Linked DNA regions of Homo sapiens: region 2 is linked to region 1. The links are contacts of gene promoters, found by promoter capture Hi-C in human tissues and cell types (Jung and others, 2019). All regions are on one chromosome and are shown on one strand. The core of a region is centred on a gene start or on the middle of the fragment in contact, and the rest is flanking DNA. Distances in the headings are between cores, read along the strand shown.

Region 1 (2,682 bases), core at 119-2,618:
TATAGGAAAACCCCTTGTGAGTTGAATAAAGGAAAAAAAAAGTCAAAGAGGCATCATAATGAAAATGAGAAATTTTCATGTAAGGGAGGACACAAGAATTATAATGATCAAATGCAACTCTGTGACAAAACATTTGTTATAGAAATGAGTACTTTTCTAGCAAAATATGAAGCATCAAAATCAACTGCTATCAAATTACCATATTGAAATCCCCTTACTGACCAATCACATTTTTATCTGATATTTCTTTTGAAATATTAATACTGTTAGTGAGATTGCAAGATATTCTAGCCCATGAGCCAAATTCTCTTTGCAAATTCTCTTTAAGCATTAAGTTATTAAGTACTGAGTATTAAGTTTTGAGTATTAAGAGCTCGAATTCTGAAGCCATACTGCTTGGGTTTAAGTCCTTGCTCTTTCATTTATCTGTCTTTATGAAATTGACCTTAAGCAAATTACTTAACTTTTCTGTGCCTTATTTTCCCCTCTACACAATAGGCTTGGTGATACTAAGAGTAACAGTATTACCTCATAGGCTTGCTTTTCAGACTCCATTATGTAATGCACAGAGAAAACAAATAATAGAGGGTTGGCGCAGAGTAAGAAATATAGCAATTGTTTTGCCTTTGATTTTGTCTGTGCATCCAACAAATGTTTTTGAACATTTACCTCGGTGTCTGTTCTATTCTAGCTACAGGGGCTGTGGAAATAAGCAAGAATAAGTACCTGCCCTTATGAAGTTTACATTCTACTGGGAAAGACAGACAATATACGTAACATAGTATAATTTCAAGGAGTGACAAGAGCATTGATCTATTGTGTGGTGATTTATAGCCAATAAAATAGTTTAGTGTTCAGTTTTACATAATACAATGCTCATTTCTATTATAACCTTCAGTTTACTATGTGATGACAAATATGACAAAAAGTTCAGACTTCAACAGGAATATTTCGGTTTGAATCTTAGCTCTGCTATATAGTATGTACCTTTGGTCAAGTTTACTTAACATATCCGCTTTGATTTATTCATCTGTAAAATATGGATACTAATACCCCTTTCCTAGAACTGTGATGATATTAAATGAATTAAGTGGCTGTAGCATGAAACATGTTACTTTTATCTTTCCTTCCTTCTCTCCATTCATTCATTCATTCATTCATTCCCTTCCCTCTCTCCATTCATAATTCCCTCTTTTCTGTAGACTTTTCTTTATGCTCTCTCTTCTTTCTTTGGTCTTTTCCCATTTTATTTTTCTTTTTCCTTGGGAATTATGGCACATATTCATTGACACATGCTTGAAAGTAATCAGAGTAAGATAAATATTTGTCTTAACATGCTCTGTCTTACAAGCTAAAGAGGGAGTAAAATGGAATGGGAAAACCACACCATTCTGGTGGAATTTTTTCTGAAGGGACTTTCTGGTCACCCAAGACTTGAGTTACTCTTTTTTGTGCTCATCTTCATAATGTATGTGGTCATCCTTCTGGGGAATGGTACTCTCATTTTAATCAGCATCTTGGACCCTCACCTTCACACCCCTATGTACTTCTTTCTGGGGAACCTCTCCTTCTTGGACATCTGCTACACCACCACCTCTATTCCCTCCACGCTAGTGAGCTTCCTTTCAGAAAGAAAGACCATTTCCCTTTCTGGCTGTGCAGTGCAGATGTTCCTCAGCTTGGCCATGGGGACAACAGAGTGTGTGCTTCTGGGCGTGATGGCCTTTGACCGCTATGTGGCTATCTGCAACCCTCTGAGATATCCCATCATCATGAGTAAGGATGCCTATGTACCCATGGCAGCTGGGTCCTGGATCATAGGAGCTGTCAATTCTGCAGTACAAACAGTGTTTGTGGTACAATTGCCTTTCTGCAGGAATAACATCATCAATCATTTCACCTGTGAAATTCTAGCTGTCATGAAACTGGCCTGTGCTGACATCTCAGGCAATGAGTTCATCCTGCTTGTGACCACAACATTGTTCCTATTGACACCTTTGTTATTAATTATTGTCTCTTACACGTTAATCATTTTGAGCATCTTCAAAATTAGCTCTTCGGAGGGGAGAAGCAAACCTTCCTCTACCTGCTCAGCTCGTCTGACTGTGGTGATAACATTCTGTGGGACCATCTTCCTCATGTACATGAAGCCCAAGTCTCAAGAGACACTTAATTCAGATGACTTGGATGCCACTGACAAACTTATATTCATATTCTACAGGGTGATGACTCCCATGATGAATCCTTTAATCTACAGTCTTAGAAACAAGGATGTGAAGGAGGCAGTAAAACACCTACTGAGAAGAAAAAATTTTAACAAGTAAATGAGAAAGGTGAGAGTAATTTTATAATCACAATATGGAAATCAATTAGAGAAACCAAGGTTAAACAGATAGGTTCTCGTTGCTGTTTCACATTCATCTCTCGAAGTTCTAAAGCTCCAAAATACACTTCTCTGATTGCGATACATAATGAAAAGAAGTAAATAAATAAATTTCAGTGTTTGGAAATAAGTTTCTATTCTGTTCCATTGGTTGATATGTCTATTTTTATCTGAGTACCATGCTCTTTTGATTACAATAACTTTATAACATATTTTAAAACTGCAGCATATGGTGCTCTCAGCTTTGTTTTTGCTTCAGATTGCTTTGCCCAGGCAGGGTCTTTTCTAGTTCCATGTAA
Region 2 (2,682 bases), core at 77-2,576, 42 kb before region 1:
TCTGTGAAGAATCTCAATGGTAGTTTAACAGGAATAGCATTGAATCTATAAATTACTTTGGGCAATATGGCCATTTTATGATATTGATTCTTCCTATTCATGAACATGGAGTGTTTTCCCATTTGTTTGTGTCTTCTCTGATTTCTTTGAGCAGTGTTTTGTAATTCTTCTTATAGAGATCTTTAACCTTCCTGGTTAGATGTATTCTTAGGTATTTTATTCTTTTTTTGGCATTTGTGAATGGGAATGAGTCCTGATTTGGCTTTGGCTTGACTGGAATTGGTGTGTACGAATGTTAGTGATATTTACACATTGATTTTGTATCTTGAGACTTTGCTGAAGTTGTTTATCAGCTTAAGAATGTTTTGGGTTGAGACTATGGGGTTTTCTAGATATAGAATCATGTTGTCTGCAAACAGGGATAGTTTTGTGTCTGGAATTGGTTCCTTCTGGTGGGTTCTTGGTCTCACTGACTTCAAGAATAAAGCTGCAGACCCTCGTGGTGAGTGTTACAGTTTTTAAAGATGGTGTGTCCGGAGTTTGTTCCTTCTGATGTTCAGATATGTCTGGAGTTTTTTCCTTCTGGACCCTCGTGGTGAGGGTTACAGTTCTTAAAGATGGTGTGTCCGGAGTTTGTTCCTTCTGATGTTCAGATGTGTCTGGAGTTTCTTCCTTCTGGTGGGTTTGTGGTCTTGCTGACTTCAGGAGTGAAGCCACAGACCTTCACAGTGAGAGTTACAGCTCATAAAAGGTAGTGTGAACCCAAAGAGTGAGCAGCAGCAAGATTTATTGTGAAGAGCGAAAGAACAAAGCTTCCACAGAGCGGAAGGGAGCCCCAGCGGGTTGCCGCTGCTGGCTGGGGTAGCCAGCTTTTATTCCCTTATTTGGCCCCACCCACATCCTGCCGATTGGTCCATTTTACAGAGCGCTGATTGGTCCATTTTACAGAGTGCTGATTGGTCCTTTTCTAGAATGCTAATTGGTGCATTTACAAACCTTTAGCTAGACACCGAGTGCTGACTGGTGGGTTTTTACAGAGTGCTGATTGGTGCGTTTACAAACCTTTAGCTAGACACAAAAGTTCTCAAAGTCCCCACCCGACCCAGAAGCCCAGCTGGCTTCACCTCTCAGTTTGACTTCCTCTTTTCCTATTTGGATACCCTTTATTTATTTCTCTTGCTTGATTGCCCTGGCCGGCCAGGACTTCCAGTACTATGTTGAATAGGAGTGGTGAGGGAGGGCATGCTTGTATTGTGCTGGTTTTCAAGGGGAATGCTTCCAGCTTTTGCTCATTCAGTATAATGTTGGCCGTGGGTTTGTCATAGACAGCTCTTATTATTTTGAGGTGTGTTCCTTCAATACCTAGTTTATTGAGAGTTTTTAATGTGAAGGGGTGTCAAATTCATTTATGTGATGAATCACATTTATTTATTTGCATGTGTCAAACCAACCTTGCATCCTAGGGATAAAGCCTAGTTGATTGTGGTGGATAAGCTTTTTGATGTGCTGCTGGATTTGGTATGCAAGTATTTTGTTGAGGATGTGTACATTGATGTTCATCAAGGGTATTGACCCGAAGTTTTCTTTTTTTGTTGTGTCTCTGCCAGGTTTTGCTATCAGGATGATGCTGGCCTCTTAGAATGAGTTATGGAGGTGTCCATCCTCCTCAATTTTTTGGAATAGTTTCAGCAGGAATGGTACCAGCTATTCTTTGTACATCTTGTAGAATTCAGCTCTAAGTCTGTTTGGTCCTGGGCTTTTTTTATGTTGGTAGACTATTTCTGACTCAATTTCAGAGCTTATTATTGGTCTGTTCAGGGATTCAATTTCTTCCTGGTTCAGTCTTCAGAGGGTGTATGTGTCTAGGAATGTATCCATTTCTTCTAGATTTTCTAGTTTGTGTGCAGAAAGTGTTCATAATATTCTCTAATGGTTGTTTGTATTTCTGTGGGGCCAGTGTATACTACAGTTTCTTATCCATTAATTTATCAATGAACACGTAGGTTGAGTCCGTATCTTGGCTATTGCGATTGGTACTGCAATAAACGTGGGAGTGCAGATTTTTTTTCAGTATGTTGATTTCCTTTATTTTGGATATATACCTGATATATATCCAGGTATGGAATTGCTGAATCATATAGAAGCTCCATTTTTATTTGTTTGAGGAGCCTTCATACTGTTTTCCATAATGGCTGTACTACTTTACATTCTCACAAACAGTATACAAGAGATCCTCTTTCTCTGCAGCCTTGTCAGCATGTATTGTTTTTGTCTTTTGATGACAGCCATTTTAACTGGAATAATTTTTTATCGTGTCTTTAATTTGCATTCCCGTGATGATTAGTGAGGTTGAGCATTTTTTCATATACCTGATGGCCATGTGTATATCTTTTGAAAAATGCCTATTCAGATAAAATGAGTTGACTGTAAATGTGTGATTTATGGGTTCTCTGTTCTGTTCCATTGGTCTTCATGTCTGTTTTTATGCCAGTACCATGCTGTTTTGGTTACTATAACTTTGTAATATAATTTGAAATCAGGTAGAGTGATGCCTATGGCTTTGTTCTTTTGCTCAGGGTTGCTTTGATCATTCTAGTTCTTTTGTAGTTCCATGTGAAGCTTAGGATTGTTTCTTCTATTTCTTTGAAGAATGACATTGGTATTTTGATAGGAATTGCATCT

What was found. Contacts are between HindIII fragments. The study calls those that stand out against the background at their distance.
Region 2: a contact is called between a fragment that was not itself captured here and the fragment with the promoter of OR13C5 in region 1, in 2 of the 25 tissues and cell types used here (H1 embryonic stem cells and thymus).

The regions. Positions count from the first base shown.
Region 1 is chr9:104,598,099-104,600,780 of GRCh38, reverse strand. It overlaps OR13C5 (olfactory receptor family 13 subfamily C member 5), which reads left to right and starts at 1,368. Exons shown (of 1, transcript NM_001004482.1): 1 at 1,368-2,324. The coding sequence starts at 1,368. The coding sequence ends at 2,324. All of the region lies in intron 3 of LOC107987105 (a long non-coding RNA gene), which reads left to right. The HindIII fragment of the contact is 7,392 bases long and covers 1-2,682 here.
Region 2 is chr9:104,639,865-104,642,546 of GRCh38, reverse strand. The region is part of intron 2 of LOC107987105 (a long non-coding RNA gene); the gene reads left to right. Among named protein-coding and RNA genes, the nearest start is that of OR13C9, 23 kb to the right of the region's middle. The HindIII fragment of the contact is 5,330 bases long and covers 1-2,682 here.